Linked DNA regions of Homo sapiens: all the other regions are linked to region 4. Evidence: promoter capture Hi-C in 16 types of primary human blood cells and fetal thymus (Javierre and others, 2016). All regions are on one chromosome and are shown on one strand. The core of a region is centred on a gene start or on the middle of the fragment in contact, and the rest is flanking DNA. Distances in the headings are between cores, read along the strand shown. Region 1 has its middle 35 kb from the start of GDAP1. Region 2 has its middle 69 kb from the start of GDAP1. Region 3 overlaps GDAP1 (ganglioside induced differentiation associated protein 1). Region 4 holds the start of PI15 (peptidase inhibitor 15). Region 5 has its middle 53 kb from the start of GDAP1. Region 6 has its middle 13 kb from the start of JPH1.

Region 1 (3,024 bases), core at 290-2,789, 440 kb after region 4:
AGTTTATAGATTCAATGCTATTCCCATCAAGCTACCATCGACTTTCTTCACAGAATTAGAGAAAACTACTTTAAATTTCATATGGAACCAAAAAAGAGCCTGTATAGCCAAGACAATCACAAGCAAAAGCAACAAACCTAGAGGCATCACGCTACCTGACTTCCAGCTATATTACAAGGCTACAGTAACAAAAATCGCATGGTACTGGTACCAAAACAGAGATATAGAGCAATGGAACAGAACAAAAGCCTCAGGAATAACGCCACACATCTACAACCATCTGATTTTTGACAAACCTGACAAAAGCAATGAGGAAAGGATTCCCTATTTAATAAATGGTGTTGGGAAAACAGGCTAGCCATATGCAGAAAGCTGAAACTGGACCCCATCCTTACACCTTATACAAAAATTAATACAAGATAGATTAAGGACTTAAACATAAGACCTAAAATCACAAAAACCCTAGAGGAAAACCTAGGCAATACCATTCAGGACATAGGCATGGGCAAAAACTTATGACGAAAGCACCAAAAGCAATGGCAACAAAAGCCAAAATTGACAAATGGGATCTAATTAAACTAAAGAGCTTCTGCACAGCAAAAGAAACTATCATCAGACTGAACAGGAAACCTACAGAATGGGAGAAAATATTTGCAGTCTATCCATTTGACAAAGGGATAATATCCAGAATCTATAAGAAACTTAAACAAATTTACAAGAAAAACACAAACAACCCCATCAAAAAGTGGGTGAAGGATATGAAACAGACAGATCTCAAAAGAAGGCATTTATGCGGCCAATAAACATATGAAAAAAAGCTCATCATCACTGTTCATTAGAGAAATGCAAATCAAAACCACAATGAGATACCATCTCACACCAATTAGAATGGTGATCATTAAAAAGTCAGGAAACAACAGATGCTGAAGAGAATGTGGAGAAACAGGAATGCTTTTATACTGTTGGTGGGAGTTTAAATTAGTTCAACCACTGTGGAAGACAGTGTGGGGATTCCTTAAGGATCTACAACCAGAAATACCATTTGACCCAGCAATCCCATTACTAGGTATATACCCAAAGGATTATATAGATTATATATCATTCTACTATAAAGACACATGCACACGTATGTTTATTGCAGCACTGTTCACAATAGCAAAGACTTGGAACCAGTCCAAATGTCCATCAATGATAGATTGGATAAAGAAAATGTGGCACATATACACCATGGAATACTATGTAACCACAAAAAAGGATGAGTTCGTGTTCTTTGCAGGGACATGGATGAAGCTGGAAACCATCATTCTCAGCAAACTAACACAGGAGCAGAAAACCAAACACTGTATGTTCTCACTCATAAGTGGGGGTTGAACAATGAGAACACATGGACACAGGGAGGGGAACATCACACACCGGGGCCTGTTGGTGGTGGGGGCGGTTAGGGGACGGATAGCATTAGGAGAAATACCTAATGTACATGATGGGTTGATGGGTGCAGCAAACCACCATGGCACTTGTATACCTATGTAACAAACCTGCACATTCTGCACATGTATCCCAGAACTTAAACTATAATAATAATAATAAAAAGATCTATATACCACCTATCTCTTTATCCATAAAATAAGCGACTTGGGTTTGGTAATATCTAATTCCTACCGCAGAAGATGTACCATGATCTTTAAAAAATTCCTTAAAGTCCCTTTCCAGTTCTGTGATTCTAGTATTTTAGTAGAAGTTAATAGATTAGTGTTTAGCTATTTAGCATCCATATTATTTGCTTTGCTAGCAAAGCATTCAACTGTGGTTTGGAATAGATCCATACCCATATGGATATTGTTCCTTAGTATACTTTTTAGTGTAATTTCAACATGTAAAGTCAGTATTGCGACTTCAGCTATAAATAAAATGGGCATAGTTGTAGTAACTGCAAAATATAGAGTGGATTTTACTCAAGACATAAAGATGTAAGTCGGTGCAGCTACACAATGATACATAAGCATGGCATTTCGTTGGCGACAGAGATCAACTTCTTACAGTGTTACTTAGTGCTTTTTTAATGAAGTTATATTGAATTTTTGTAGTGAAACCTGAAACCAAATGAAATCTTCTTGATGTGGGGTTTATTTCTAGAGGTTTGGGGTTTCTCTGTAAACTTGAAATCCATGTGTGGTTCACAGAAAATGTTGGTAAGACTCAATCAACTTTTGGAAAACCTGGATAGAATTTCGAGCAATTAGAAACAAGAGACTGAATGTGTTTTGTTTACTTTAGGCCAAATTTTGTGGGTTTTAAATTTAGAGTTGAACAATTGGGGTTTAAGTTCCATTCATAGGGAAAACATGACTTCCTAGTGGAAAGAAAAGACCTGAAGAAAACAATTTTTACTTTGGAAAAATATAAAAATTGTTCATGCATGGGCTCTGGAACCAAAACAGTGGTTGAAAAAGAGATTGCCTGAGAAGAATTTTTAAAAATTGTATAATACAGTTTGTTACTGCCAGTTTTTATTTCCCCCATTGAAGTGAATTACCAGGAGCTACAAGAGGCGTGAACACACACAATCTTCTCGGGGAAGAAAGTGTTAACTTACATTATATATTAATGGACTAAATTCAACAAATTGTTTTTAAAATAAACATCAGAATGTTTTAAAAAGCAAGCAGTTATCAGTGCATTGTCTGAATTCAGCTGATTGTATTCCAAATAAGAAGTTCCTGTGAAGTAAATAATAAAATCATTATTCTCATCATTTCAGAGGCAGGAAATCTGCACCTTGGAGTTAAGGGTTGAATTCATGCGTGTTATGTAACAACATGAGACTTAAACGATCTTACTTCTTAGATACCTACAACCACCAAGATGCAGGGTTGATTCACAGGTTGGAAAAAATATCTGTTATATTTGTGAGTGTATGTGTTTCCTTTCTGGCATTTCATAGATTTTGATTGGAAGGCTTCATGGAAGAAGTGAATCGGCAATAGGTGCAGCTAAAAACCAAACCTGATAAACTGGCAAACTAAG
Region 2 (3,038 bases), core at 487-2,986, 410 kb after region 4:
TATGTATCATCTATCTCTTCTGATTATCCCAGAGCTATGATATAAGTGAAAGCAATAAAGATGAGGAAAGAGAAGAGTTTCAGGATGGAAAAGAAAAATACTTATAATAAAAAAGACTCAGGCTCCCATCCAAGTAATAACCAGGCCCCACCATGGCACATGTACCCCAGAACTTAAAATAAAATAAAAAGCATTAACCACTAGATTGCTGAAACATTAAAAAAAAAATACAGGAATCAGTATACCACAGTGTAATTTACAATGAACACACTTTGGTCCCATTTCTACTATCTACTACCCACATAACCTTGAACACAAAAGACAAACTGATGTTCGTTGTCTTTATCTGTATAATGGTGATAATAATAACTACTTCAGAGAGTCACATTAAGGAAGAAATGAAGTAGGTAATGCAAAGCACTCCGCACAGCATCTGACACATTCAAGAGACGGTAGCTGCAGGTGTTGTTACTGCTGCTGTTGTTACTGTTTGTGTTGTTATAGGACAGTGAACCATTAGAATCCTTTATCCTCTGAAATTTCTCACCAACATTTTACTTGGCTTTATTCTATGCTAACCTACAATTATAATATATAAGAGTTAAAGGAAGCTTAGAGTTCTCTTTGATACCTTCATTTCCTAAGTGTAGAAAGTAAGGCCCTGAAAATTAAGCAACTGATCCAGAAACATGAACCTGGGTCTATAAATTACAAATGCCAGGCTTTTCCTACTTTATTATGTTGATACTCAACCAGGGCCTGAGCATAAAAGACTGACCACTTCCATTTTTTATGACACTCCACTATAATTTAAAAAATGAAGTTCCCACCAAAATTCCAATAGCCTTTTCTTGCAGAAATAAAAAAGCCAGTCTTCAAATTTATATGGAATTGCATGGGATCCCAAACAGCCAAAACAATCCAGAAAAAGAACAAAGTTGGAGGCCTCATATTTCCGAATCTCAAAACCTACTGCAAAACTACAGTAATTAAAACAGTGTGGTATTGTCATAAGGACAAACATAGAGACCAATGGAATAGAATTGAGAGCTCAGAAATAAATCCATATATGTATGGCCAATTTTTTGTCATCAAGAGTCCCAAAACCATTTCAATGGGGAAAATGGTCTCTTCAACAAATGGTGCTGAGAAACTGGATATCCACATGCAAAAGAATGAAGGTGGACTGGCTACATCACACCATATATAAAAATTAGCTGAAAATAGATCAATGCCCTAAGTATAAAAGCTGAAACCAGAGAACCCCTAGAAGAAAACAGAGATAATTCTTAATAACCTTGGATTTGGCAATAGATTCTTGGATATGACACCAAAAGCATGAGCAAGAAAAGAAAAAATAAATATAATGTCATTAAATTTAAAAATGTTTTCTATTAAAAGACATTATCAAGAAAAGGCAACCTACAGGGTGTAGGAAAATATTTTCAAATAATAGCTCTCTTGGGTCTAGTGTCCAGAATACATAAACTCTTACAACTCAATGACAAGAAAAGCAAGCATCCCAATTTTAAAATAGGCAAATCCCCAAACCCGAATATGTTCTCCATTGCTACAGTTTTTTCTTTCCAAGAATGTAATATAAATGGAATGTAACCTGTTGAGACTGGCCTCTCTTACTCTGAATGCCTTTGAGCTTCCTCCAAGTTGTTGCATGTATCAATAGGACATTCTTTTTCATTGTTCAGAACTATTACATTATATGAATACCCCACAGTTTATCATTCACTTGTTGGAAGACATTTGGATGGTTTCTACTTGGAGGCAATTATGAAGAAAACCACCATAAACATTTATATAAGCGTTTTGTGTGAACACAAGTTTTTGTTTCTCTACAGTAGACACCTAGAAGTGGAATTTTTGAGTTATATGGTAAGTGCAGGTTTAACTATAAGAAACTGCCGAAGAATGTTTCAGAGTGACTACACCATCTTGCTTTCCCAGGAGCGATGTATGAGACTTTCACTTGATCTGCATTCTCCCGCACTTGGTATTGCCAGTATGTTTAATTTAACCATTCCAATAAACGTTTTGCTGTTATTTTACCATGCTTCTAATTTGAATTTCTTTAACAATTAATGATGCTAAATAACTATGAAGTGGTTATTTGCTATCTGTATATCCTCTTTGATGAAATGTCTGTTAAAGTCTTTTGTCTATTTTTTTAATTGAATAGTTTGTTATAATTGTTGCATTTGATAGTTGTTTATATGTTTTAAATACATGACCTTTGCTGAATATGAGATTTGCCAATATTTTCTACCAGTCTGTATTTTGTCTTTTCCTTGTCTTAACACTTAATGCAGAGCTCTTAACAGAGAGCAAAAGTTTTATTTTAGATGAAGTCCATTCTATCAAGATTTCCTTTTATGCACCATGCTTTTAGTGTCATGCCTAAGATTTCTTTGCCTAATCCAGGGCACAACAGTCCCTTGTCCTCTTGTAAAACTTTTATAGTTACTTGTTGTTCATCTATATATGTGAAGTAATTTGAGTTAATTTTTCAAAGCATTAGATTTAGGTTGAGGTTTTTAATATTGATATTCAATTGTTCCTATACTACTTGCCAAAAACATTATAATATCTCTGCTAAATTGCCTTTGCTTCTTTGTTAAAAATCAATTGGCCATATTTCTGTGAGTTTATTTCCTAGACTCTCTGTTTTGTTCAATTGACCCATATGCTTATCCCTTCACCAATGCCACATCAACTTGAATACTGTAGCTTTGTGGTAAGTCTTAAAACTGGGTAGCATAATTTCCCCAACTTGGTCTTCTCTTTAGCCAATTGTTTTGGCTATTGTAGTTCTTTTGCTTTTCCATGCAAATTTTAGAACAAGCTTATCTATATCTACAAAAACATCTGCCGGGATTTTGATTGGAATGGCATTAAATGTACAAATCAGTTTGGAAGAATTGAAATCTTTGAAATGTTGAGATTCCCAATCCATGAAAACAATTTGTCTCTCCACTTATCTAGGCCTTCTTAGATTTCTTTCATCAGCAATTTGTCATTTTCAA
Region 3 (2,700 bases), core at 1-2,500, 460 kb after region 4:
TTTGGTGAGACCTAAGAATGTTCCCATGAATAATACTGATGTTGAAAAGAGAGAAAGAATATAAATGAGAACCTACCTGGGGTTTCTTCATTTCTTCTTTGCAATTCAGTTTCAACCTGATCCAAGACTTTCTCCAACTCATCAAGAATTTTCTTCAAATACTTGACATTGTCATGATCAAGCAGCTTTGACTAATTAACCACCAAAAAAAGAAACCAAACATATTATTTGCACCTTTAAAAAAAATAAATCTAGGTAAAGCAGATACAAACTCTTACAGAGTTCAGCCTATTTTAGACAACGAGAAGAAATAGAAAAACTCAGCAAAAAAAAAAAAAAAAAAAAGAGAGAGAGAGAGCTAAGTTGAAGGGAAATATCCCAGCTGTGAAAATGACCCAGGAGCAGACCCACCACTCACTGGCAGCTCCTATGAGGCCAGATGACCACAGAAGGCAAAGAATGGGAGGGACACGAAGAGCCATCTGCCAAGCCCAACTCAGGAAAAGAATTCTAGCAGCCGTAATTGAAAGAGTAGCTGAAGGGTCAGGGATGAGTAAGAAGTCCGAGTGAAGGAGTTAAACGGCGAGTGGAGAGTCAGTCAAGTGACTGTGAGTGCAGGTGTTTCTTCTGAGGAGCTCGTTTAGCTACGATAGGATAAAGGAAGGTGGGAAGTTGGGGAGGGTTGGGAGTGCTGCTGTTTTCTACACTTTTAATATGAGAGAAGCTTGCAATAGTTGCTGGGCCCGGGGAAGGAATCAACAGAAGGAGAAAGGCTGACCATAAAGCACACTCCTCAGGGGGCAAAGCAAGTCAGGGCGACACATGGAGGGATGTAGGTCTAGCGAGGACTTCCAGTGGTGGAATACCTGAAATGACAGATTCTAGAATATGTTATGAACTTCCTTTGCATTTCATAACTTTTTTGGCAACCAGCATGCTCAATATCTGCTTGTTAAGCACTTGTCATCAAGTTTCAATATCAAGTCTAATAAAAAATTCTTTCTAAAAGGAGAACATAAGCCAAAGGTAACATGTGTACTGGTGAACTGCAATATTTAAAAGAAGATATTCTAGAAATAGTGGTACTTTACAAAAAGTAGAACATTTACTCCGTGCAGTGTATGTCAACTGAGGACAGCTGATTGGCTTACTTTAAGTCGTTTCTGTTTTGCAATGTATGCTTCTTGTAAATCTGGGTTTTCTTCAGCAAGTTTCTTCAGCTCAGACTCTGTGTTTCCAATTTGGCCTGATAATAAAAACATTTTGGAAACAGAAAATTATTTTCTCCCTTCTACACCAGTAACAAGGAGAAGCAGAGAAACTCAATGACAAGAGCATGAGCTCTGGGGCTCATGCCCTGCTTCTCTGCCTTGGGCTTACCCTGTCTATGCCTCAGTTTCCTCACCTTTCAAATGGAACCATAAGAGTATCTGCCGGCTGGGCGCGGTGGCTCACACCTGTAATCCCAGCACTTTGGGAGGCCGAGGCGGGAGGATCAGGAGGTCAAGAGATCGAGACCATCTTGGCCAACGTGGTGAAACCCCGTCTCTACTAAAAATACAAAAATTGTCTGGGCGTGGTGGCGCATGCCTGTCATCCCAGCTACTCGGGAGGCTGAGGCAGGAGAATCACTTGAACTCAGGAAGCAGAGGTTGCAGTGAGCCGAGATGATGCCACTGCACGCCAGCATGGAAACAGAGCGAGACTCCATCCAAAAAAAAAAAGAAAAGAAAAAAACAAAGAATATCTGCCATGAAGACTAAATGAGAAGCTTCATGGGAAGCACTTAGAGCAAGGCCCAGCACTTTACAGTGCTCAGTGCAGGCTTGCTGCTCCGCCTTCCTCTACCTTTCAAGCTTTCTATAATGAACTCCTATATGAAGGGAGGAAAAAGCCTTATTTTTAAAAAATATTAACTATAGGTCATAGAATTATAGTCAAAACTCTTGTTTCAAATACTATAAAGGGTATTTATGAAGAGGAGGAGGAATAAGAGGAAAGAGAAGCAGGAAGAGAGGGCAGTGGAGAAAAAGGAAGAGAAGGGAGAAAAGGGAAGAGATGAAAAGGGAAGGGAGAGGAGAGGAAAAGGAGGGGTATCAAAAAGGAAAAAAAGAATAATAAGAATAATAAAGGTGAGTATCACATAATGGGGAACACATGGTTTCTGGATTTAGAAGATCTGAGTTTGAGTGTTTCTGATCAACATTCCCAAAGTGTGACCACTGCCACAATCCTTTCCCTTCTTATCTCCAATTATCTCTGCTATAAAGCACACCTCCTGCTCCACAGATCATGCACTGACTATTCTCATGACAGGAGGAAGGCAGAAAGCTGGATGTCACAACTCAATCCCAATAAATCTACTATCACTGAACATAGAGACAGAGTAATAGTTAGACACCCTCTAGTCCAGTTTCCTCAAATAACGAAAACAACAATTAAGGACCAGTAACATGAACTCAACTGCCCATAATCCTAGGCAGATCCCAGGTTTTCAGATTCCTAGTCCATCTGTTCATGAGAACATGTTATATTCTTTACTCTTCCATAATCCACTCTTCTGAGTTTTACCCAAGATTGGCCCTCAAAGCCAAGAGCTGATAAATCAGGTCCTATAGACAATAAATGTCCAATTGAGCAAGTGAAGCACAGATTAATCCGACTGGTTCATGGATCGATCCATAACATGCACATCCATGA
Region 4 (3,003 bases), core at 275-2,774:
AGTCAGCATGTTCTCTTAGAATACAAATAGGTTAGCGTCAGTAAGAACTTTGTCCAAAAAAGGGAAAAGACACCTACCCAGAGAATAAATCATGCATATGAAACCTATAATTTTAAGAAGTATTTTCAAGAAATGATATAGCTGATAAATATGACTGTGAGATAAAGCACAGAAAAAGTTCATGTGACTTTTTTTAAAGTGGACCTTCCAAATGTGATCAGTCAACATACCCCACTTTTTATCTATGATTCTTACATAAGATACAATTCACCAGTAGCTATGGAACTCACAGAAGAAAGTCTACATAGATTCTCTCTATCTGTCTGTCTCTGTCTCTCTGGACCTCTCTGTCTCTCTGATTCTGTGATGCAACAGTACTCAACATTATTAGGCACATAAGAACCTTAGGTTAAAATATGTAAAAAGTCCATATACCCGGACATATAAACACTCGTGGTCGTTTGAGATTCTGCAGATGTACAATATAAAGCTTTCTCACTCAGAACTTAAAAAAAAAAAAAAGAATTCTTCTTACCATATATTCCATATTTGCTGCCGGTGGGAACACTTTGCCCCGAACTTGATTATGATAATCAAGAATGGCGATCATGTCATTCTGCGAAATGTAGCGCTTCCGCCTGGCTTTGGGGATATCCGCTGAATCTAATTGTGCTTTCAGAGCTGCTTCAATATCAGTGAAATTATTGGTTGGCGGGGATGAGTCAGTGGAATTGAGTAGGACGACGGTACTTGCTTCACAGAGAAGGGAGAACAGGAGTGCACTGCTGACGGCAGAGATTGCTATCATTTTGAGGGGTGGAGAAGAAGAGGCCACCGAGTTTACTTTGCTTTAAAGCAGAAAGGTAGAGTTAGGGTCTATGAAAAAAAATAGGGCCAGAGGGTATGAATTTACAAAGACATCATTTGGGAGCATTGCTTGATTTGACTTTCTTCAAAAATCCAAACAAATGTTGAACTCAAGCCTAGGAGATAACCTACAGTAGAATCTCTATTCATTTTTTAGTGTCATGAGGCAGACCCCTAAGAGGAACTTTGTATAGCAGAGAAAAATAAACAGCATGACCACTAACCCTAAAATGAATGTGAACCATTTGCCCCAAATGTCTGAACCACAAAATATATTACTGCATATTTTCAGTGGGAAATTTTCAGCAATTGAAATTCACCTGGAGAGTGAAGAAAAAATGAATCACAGGTAACAACAGAGAATGTGCTGATAATGTCTGCCAGACATATAGACACACCAAGTGATAGAACACATACAAAAAAGTCATAGTAATCCAATCTCATTTCTTTAAAAAAATGTGAGCTACTTTAAAATCAATGCATGCAATATAAACTTGTTGAGCTAAATAGCTTACCTCTGCACAATGCCAAAATGAATATATTGTTCTTCCAAAAATTTAAGGTTCTTTGCTATGTGGTAGCATGAACTCTTGTAAGAGGAGTGTGTCTTTTTACAAACTCTCTGAGAGCAAAGCTCTGCAAGGTTTGAATGCTGCTGGCTAGAGGAGCAGCTAACAGCTTTTATATGTCACAGTTTGCAACGTCCAGAAAGGGCAGTCTTTCTAAGGGTCTCTCTTAGCCAAAATCAAAGGGGAGGGGTTTGGGGTAGAAAAAAACAGTGATTGGGTGGCAACCTTTTTATGTGGGTGGTGAGGAAATTGAGTCACACCCACAGCTTACAAAGTACAAGCCATAAAAGACAAACCCCTTTTTCTCTGGGCTTCCACCTTTTCTGTGAGTAATTTCTCTCATTTTATGCTTTCTAGTTCCTGGTTCCCATACAAAAAAGAAGAAACAAAGACAAAAAAAAAAAAGACTGTGGGTTCATGAAAAAACAGACAGTTGAGTAACAAGCAGTACATTTTTTTAAGACAGTAAATGACATGGGAGCTAAAAAGAACAAGCTGATATTAAATCAAGAGATCAGCTAACATAGTTAATCTGGGTGGCCACAAATATGATTCGAGAGGGATGCCAGGCAAATCGGTAGTAACCAAACTATAGCATATGATATTAGGATAATAGATGCTCAAGTGGCTGTGTTCTCTGCTTCCATGTGGCTGCATTCCTGTGCTTTATATATTTCTTCTTCTCTCTCTTATTTTACCTTCTCTCCCTTTTTTCTTTCTCTACAGAGTGAGGTCAGAAATTACTTGCTTTTTACCTGCCTTGTATAAAATGTGAATAGAGAAGCTCATGGCAAATGACAGCAGCCAAGATAACATCTGTTTCAGGTTTAGAGCATATAGTTGAAATTTTAAGCAGAGAATAGCTCAGCCTCTCAGGAAATGTATTAGAGGGCATAACACAGAGGCCATGAAGAATTTTAACAGCAGCAGCAGCTGCCAACAATTAGAAGTGCCTTGTTAGGAGGATGTCACAGGGGCAAAGTCTATGTCAGGCAAAGCAAGAAGAAGAATGTGAACATTGGTGCTCTATAATGAAAGGACCCTCCCCAAAATGCGTCATGATCTCATTAACAAAATGTGGACCACTTACAGTCAGTAGCAATAGGAATCCTGGAAAACACACGCTCTTCAGTTTAGAAACTTACTTAACTTACACTGATTTTTTCCAGCTTGCTAATGTGATTGTCTCCCACATGTTTCAGCAGAAGAAATACTATGTGAATTTACAGTCATCAGAAATGATGGTCATGTGGCACACTGGACAGGCAGCCAAGTTTCCTAGGATATATTCCCAGTTGGATCACGAGTAGTATGTGTGGTCAAATGCATACTGTTTAACTCTTCATTGGTGCACCTAAAAATGGGAGAGAAAAGATTCACGTTCTATGGTGAGACAGACATCATCAAGTTCTTTAAGAGGGTAGTGAGGTGTACCAGAGGTGTCACTAAAATTCAAACTACAGTGATGAGATACAGACTTTATAATAATATATACCAAAGTCCAGGTTTTGACACATTTTGATGACTATTCAACTCCTAACTAAAGTGAAATCATTTTAGGAGAGCC
Region 5 (3,096 bases), core at 3-2,502, 420 kb after region 4:
AGGTGAGTGACTCAGCTTTTCTACATCTCAGTATATTCACTTCTTAAAATGAGAATAACTTAATAACTTATATTAAATATATTTATATAATATACATCTTGAAGAGTTTTGCCATGATTGATTCTGTTAATTCATATAAATGGCCCGGCACATAGTAATCATCTAGAAAATGATATTACTATTACTATTAATGATATTACTAAATACTAGCTACTATAGGTTGGTGAAAAAGTAATTGTGGTTTTGCCATTTAAAAGTAATAGTCAAAACTGCAATTACTTTTGCACCAACCTAATACTATTATTACAGTGATGTGATTAATAAGCCTAAGACAGGATTTTTTTTAAGTTAATGCACAAAGTAAATAATTCTCACTTAGCAATCAAATGAGAGTATGCAGGTATCACTTAACATATTCCTGGTACATTGTAAATACTCAAGAAATAGCCATTATCATTATTTTTATTAATCACGAATTAATTTGTCTCGTGATCTTTTTATTATCATAGAGATTTCTAACATTCTCAATTATTTGTACTGGATAAACTCAAAATACTATCCTATGATCTTTCTTTTTTACAGGCTCATATTTAAAGACTGGTTATTCACACATTTTGCTCAACAAAGAGAATAAAAGACAAAACTTTGCAGATATAGACTGTCAAAGCTTTATACATAACACCAACTTAGTTTGAGTATTGAGTTTTTAAATCTCAGTTGAGTCTTAACAAAAAAGCAGCTCCATCAAGGTTCACATTTAAACATAGGTAGACAGGCAGTACGCTTCTAATGATTACAGTTCATCCTCACTGTTCTATCAAGTGATCTGTAAAAGTTACTAACACATACACTACAGAGACCCGGCAAGGTCAGAAATCTGCCCAAATGTCTTACCCAAATGCTGCTGACCATAATCCATATACTTTTACTGGAACTTCTGGTGAAATTTAGTAGATATGCTTCACCAGCAAAAGCTAAAACGTTAAGTGTGTAAAACTTATAAATATTTGGCCAGCTTGTTTAGAAAAGAAAATTCCACCATCTGGGTTCATTTGCAATTCTAGTCATCTCCTATGTAGAACGGGTAAACTGAGATATTCACCCAAATAAAACATGTAAACATGCCCTGTGCTTTTCTCTGACAGGATAGAAAAAAAATTAATAATTAAACTTTTAAATCTGTTTGCAATCCCCTCTTCTTCTATTTCCTCCTTTTAGATTTTATTCAAATAAAACAATAAAATGCAGTCAATACTGTAATGAAATTGGTAGGATGGAGACTCCAATACTAATAAACCTTAAACAATTAAGATAAAGCATCTATATCATTTTTAAAAACCCAGTGTAGTCAAACTAAATGAAATATTTAAATGTTTTTAATAGGCCAAATACACCCAGAGAATGACTCTCCCATCACTGCGAGATATAAAATTAGCTTATTTTAACATCAGATTGTTTGGGCACTATTATCGTGTATGTGTTTGTAATGAAAATGTCCATTTTTATATTATAGAACTATTTCTATCCAGGTGCTATAAATTCCTACATATCCATTAACTTTTTTCTCATTAACTTTTGAAAAACATCATACATTGAAACTTGAATTGTCTTTACTTAGAACAACTCAACAACAACAACAACAACAAAAGAATAAGAATAATCAATTATATATCTGTTCAGATATATCTTGACAAATAATTTTATGAAGGAGTAACTTCTACTAAATTGGAAATTTTACAGGTTAACTTTAAGATTTTTTGTATATGCAAAAAAGTCATTTGTTTATATTTAAAGTAAAAGTATTTTTTGCTTTTAGTGCAAAAAATTAAAAGCTTTGGGGAAGGAGCCAAGATGGCCGAATAGGAATAGCTCCAGTCTATAGCTCCCAGCATGAGCGACACAGAAGACGGGTGATTTCTGCATTTCCATCTCAGGTACCAGGTTCATCTCACTAGGGAGTGCCAGAAGTGGGCGCAGGACAGTGGGTGCAGCGCACCATGCGCGAGCCGAAGCAGGGCGAGGCATTGCCTCACTCAGGAAGCGCAAGGGGTCAGGGAGTTCCCTTTCCTAGTCAAAGAAAGGGGTGACAGACGGCACCTGGAAAATCGGGTCACTCACACCCTAACACTGCGCTTTTCCGAAGGGCTTAAAAAACGGTGCACCAGGAGATTATATCCCGCAACTGGCTCGGAGGGTCCTACGCCCACGGAGTCTCGCTGATTGCTAGCACTGCTGTCTGAGATCAAACTGCAAGGTGGCAGCGAGGCTGGGGGAGGGGCGCCCGCCATTGCCCAGGCTTGCTTAGGTAAACAAAGCAGCCGGGAAGCTCCAATTGGGTGGAGCCCACCACAGCTCAAGGAGGCCTGCCTGCCTCTGTAGGCTCCACCTCTGGGGGCAGGGCACAGACAAACAAAAAGGCAGCAGTAACCTCTGCAGACTTAAATGTCCCTGTCTGACAGCTTTGAAGAGAGCAGTGGTTCTCCCAGCACGCAGCTGGAGATCTGAGAACGGGCAGACTGCCTCCTCAAGTGGGTCCCTGACCCCTGACCCCTGAGCAGCCTAACTGGGAGGCACCCCTAGTAGGGGCAGACTGACACCACACGGCCGGGTACTCCTCTGAGACAAAACTTACAGAGGAACGATCAGACAGCAGCATTCGCGGTTCAAGAAAATCCGCTGTTCTGCAGACACCGCTGCTGATACCCAGGCAAACAGGGTCTGGACTGGACCTCTAGCAAACTCCAACAGACCTGCAGCTCAGGGTCCTGTCTGTTAGAAGGAAAACTAACAAACAGAAAGGACATCCACACCAAAAACCCATCTGTACATCACCATCATCAAAGACCAAAAGTAGATAAAACCACAAAGATGGGGAAAAAAACGGAGCAGAAAAACTGGAAACTCTAAAAAGCAGAGCGCCTCTCCTCCTCCAAAGGAACGCATTTCCTCACCAGCAATGGAACAAAGCTGGACGGAGAATGACTTTGACGAGTTGAGAGAAGAAGGCTTCAGACGATCAAACTACTCCGAGCTACAGGAGGAAATTCAAACCAAAGGCAAAGAAATTAAAAACTTTGAAAAAAATAGAGACGAATG
Region 6 (3,131 bases), core at 524-3,023, 490 kb after region 4:
GATATTTCATATATATTAACCTAATCCGCTTACAAATGGAGACTACACCACTTTCTGCCATGTCATGAAATGTACATTTCTTTTATTGGCTGCTCTTTGCATTTGGCAAGTTATACAAAGTGTTTGGAGCTCTCAGTTTTACAGGGCCTCTACTCAAACTTCCTTGCGAACTGTTCTTTATGTGCCTGAGAACAGGGCTCAGGTTTTCCAGGGCTCTTATATTTTCTTCCCACAACCAATGGATCAGTTTGTGGACTTGACTTTGGAGCCTAGTTCTCTAAGCCTTTTTCAGCCACATGGCCAAGGAGGCAAAGACCTCTCAGTCGCCTTTTTCTAATTCTGCTTGTCCTGGATACCATAAGCAGGAATCACAGAGATGTGTGATCTCGCTCAAGTTGGTCTCTCCTTAGTCTCAGATCTTAATGATCACTTGATCTTGACCATACCAAACCTTGGGGTCTAATGATCCCTTTTTAGGATGTTAAAAGGTATAATTTATCCTGTCCCTATGGATCTATGTGAGAAGAAATCATTACCTTTATTTTTTTTCCTCTAGGAATAATCCACTCAGGATTCCAAACAGAAGTCCACGTACCCATGGGAGTTCACCCATGTATCCTAAGGGGTCTGCTGATTCTTTCCAGATTTTTCATCTCCATGGGCTGTTACTTGATTTCAGAGGCTGATTTTATGTTTATGTTTAGGCTGACTTTGGCACTAAGTCCTTCTACTTTAATTGTTTCTGACTAATGAGAAGAAAAGCAGACCTAATACATAATTGATGCATCTCCACCGAGCAATAGCCAAATGGTATGCCAGCACACTGTACAAAGAAAGACTTCCTACTAGATCACAAAGCAGAGTCCTGAACAGCATCTAGCAGGACGCATGGGCTGAAATTAGGAGTGTGGCTCCATGGGTAGTACCGTAACATTTTAAAATGAAAAACATCATCTGTCACACTAAATTCAGGTTGTTAACTTGAATATTATTTGTTTTCAATTATGTTAGCTTTATGTTGTAAATAAACTATAAGCATACGGAGGTGTATCTTATATTTTATGTATCAAAGTACACATATACAATGATTGTAAATTTAAATAAAAATAATAAAATTTAATCCACCATGGGAGAAAGGTCTGAACACATTTTTGTTTTCTTTCAAAAGTTATTCCTGGATTTCTCAAGTTTAAAAATAAACACTGTTCTATAGTAGAGGGGTCACATCTTGCTTCAGGATACGTATCAGAACCAATAGGGAGGGCTAGAATTTAACAACCTTTTTGTATTTTCTAATACTACACTTCTGCCTATTTTGCTTTCTCTGCCCAACCTCAGCTATGGGAGGAGTGACTAAACAGTCATTGCTTCTTACTGAACTCTTAGAGTAAGATCACAAACAGGCCCTGGTCCCTGCCTTCCTCCCCACCATCATCTCTCACCAAGATCCTCTCCTTTGCTCAATGAGCCTTCTCAGTCCCTTCAATGTGCCACACTCATTGTGCCACACTCTTTTCATAATTATTTCCTCTTCTCCAGTTGAACTACTTACTTTTCTGGCTGTCTCCTACTCATCCTCCAGAGCTCGGCTTAAATGTCACTTTCTTAGAGAAGCATCTGAGCAATATCTATTGGAAGAATGGATGGGTGGATGGGTGGATGGATGGATGGATGGGTGGATGGGCGGAAGGCGACCACATAGAGGGATGGGTGTGTAGATGGGTGGATAGTGGATGGATAGATGATGGGTGGATGATGGATGAAGGATGAAAAGGTGGGTAGATAAATGGGTGAATGAATAGATGGTAGATGCATGGATGGATGGATGAATGAGTGGATAGATGGTGGGTGGATGAATGGGTGAGTGGGTGGGTGGATGATGGATGGATGAATGGGTGGGTGGATGGATGGATGAGTGATGGATGGATGGGTGAGTGGGTAGGTGGATGGATGGATGGATGGATGATGTATGGATGAACGGGTGGGTGGATAGTGGATAAATGGATAGACAGACGGATGGGTGGGTGAATGGACAAATAGACTGTAGATGGATGGTTGGATGGATGGATGCATGGGCAGGCAGGCAGATAGATGAATAAATGGTGGATGAATGGACAAATGAATGGATGGATGGGTAGGTGGGTGCAGGGATGGATGGGGAGGCCTTCCCTGATCTTGCAATCTAACTCAAAGTATCCCTTGCTATTCTTTTTTATAGCACTACTGTTTCTTCTGTAGCACAACAATTGGCAATGATATATTGATTTAATATCTATCCTTTCAGTGGACTGTAAATTCCCTGAGGGCAGGGAGTTAACGACCTTATACCCATTACAAAGCACTCTATTTAGAAGGTACTTGCTACATATATATTCAGTAAATGAAAAAAGGAAATCTTGAAGATGATATTCACATCACTGAAATAGCTGTAAGGAGTGGAAAAGACCTTTTCTAACATTTTTAAATATTTTAATTAATGAATTATGTTAACATGGAACAATCTAAAAGAACAATACATTTTGAGAATAAGTAACCTGTGGCCTTTGACAGGAAGAATCATAAACTGAAACAGCATTTGAAGATGATCCTCCTCAGACATTAATCAGAGACAAAATATACACCATAGTCAGTATGAAAATGACCTCAGAAGCTGTATTTTGTAGGCAAAATTCCACTACTGCTTGGACAGAGTAGTTCTTGGGATATATATGATTCAGCAGTCACCACACGCTTATAGTAGTAGAAAAGAAAAATTTGGTTTTTTTCATCCAACAATAAAGAGCATCTTGAAAAAAAATCTGAAGTAGGTGGTCCCAGGATCACTTGAACATACTCTCTTCCTGTGTGTTCAACCCTATACCCCTCCTGTCTCAACATTGCTCTTAACCCCCAGGAGTGGTAGACAGGAAATCCAGCTAATCCAGATGCTGATACTCACAAACAGGGACAGGCCAATGTGCCCAGTTGCCACAATGTCCAGCTAGTCCAGGGCCATATGAAACTCGTCAGCTCAATCAAGGGTTCCAGCCATTCTAAAGTGGCTGGAAACCACAAAGGGCTAGGGCAGGGAGTACTTTACTGTGTCATCACCTAAAAGCAGAGCTCTTTGGGGCTTACTTATCCCAGATACT

Evidence for each region. The method cuts DNA at HindIII sites, captures the fragments that hold promoters and counts their contacts. A CHiCAGO score of 5 or more calls a contact.
Region 1: a contact is called between a fragment that was not itself captured here and the fragment with the promoter of PI15 in region 4, in 3 of 17 cell types (monocytes, M2 macrophages and endothelial precursors). The highest score is 6.5, in monocytes.
Region 2: a fragment that was not itself captured here is called in contact with the fragment with the promoter of PI15 in region 4 in 3 of 17 cell types (M0 macrophages, M2 macrophages and endothelial precursors); the score reaches 6.2 in M0 macrophages.
Region 3: a fragment that was not itself captured here is called in contact with the fragment with the promoter of PI15 in region 4 in 5 of 17 cell types (erythroblasts, M2 macrophages, M0 macrophages and 2 more); the score reaches 8.6 in erythroblasts.
Region 5: a contact is called between a fragment that was not itself captured here and the fragment with the promoter of PI15 in region 4, in 4 of 17 cell types (endothelial precursors, M2 macrophages, megakaryocytes and 1 more). The highest score is 6.9, in endothelial precursors.
Region 6: a contact is called between a fragment that was not itself captured here and the fragment with the promoter of PI15 in region 4, in 1 of 17 cell types (monocytes). The highest score is 5.3, in monocytes.

The regions. Positions count from the first base shown.
Region 1 is chr8:74,383,743-74,386,766 of GRCh38, reverse strand. It overlaps a transcript of GDAP1 not described here. Among named protein-coding and RNA genes, the nearest start is that of GDAP1, 35 kb to the right of the region's middle. The HindIII fragment of the contact is 4,646 bases long and covers 1-3,024 here.
Region 2 is chr8:74,418,001-74,421,038 of GRCh38, reverse strand. It overlaps a transcript of GDAP1 not described here. Among named protein-coding and RNA genes, the nearest start is that of GDAP1, 69 kb to the right of the region's middle. The HindIII fragment of the contact is 2,246 bases long and covers 614-2,859 here.
Region 3 is chr8:74,360,430-74,363,129 of GRCh38, reverse strand. GDAP1 (ganglioside induced differentiation associated protein 1) reads right to left here. Exons shown (of 6, transcript NM_018972.4): 4 at 1,152-1,246; 5 at 77-191. Among named protein-coding and RNA genes, the nearest start is that of GDAP1, 11 kb to the right of the region's middle. The HindIII fragment of the contact is 1,047 bases long and covers 727-1,773 here.
Region 4 is chr8:74,823,055-74,826,057 of GRCh38, reverse strand. It overlaps PI15 (peptidase inhibitor 15), which reads right to left and starts at 1,524. Exons shown (of 6, transcript NM_015886.5): 1 at 1,383-1,524; 2 at 536-848. The coding sequence starts at 808. The HindIII fragment of the contact is 3,900 bases long and covers 493-3,003 here.
Region 5 is chr8:74,401,447-74,404,542 of GRCh38, reverse strand. It overlaps a transcript of GDAP1 not described here. Among named protein-coding and RNA genes, the nearest start is that of GDAP1, 53 kb to the right of the region's middle. The HindIII fragment of the contact is 1,165 bases long and covers 670-1,834 here.
Region 6 is chr8:74,333,281-74,336,411 of GRCh38, reverse strand. No RefSeq gene overlaps it. Among named protein-coding and RNA genes, the nearest start is that of JPH1, 13 kb to the right of the region's middle. The HindIII fragment of the contact is 6,009 bases long and covers 1-3,131 here.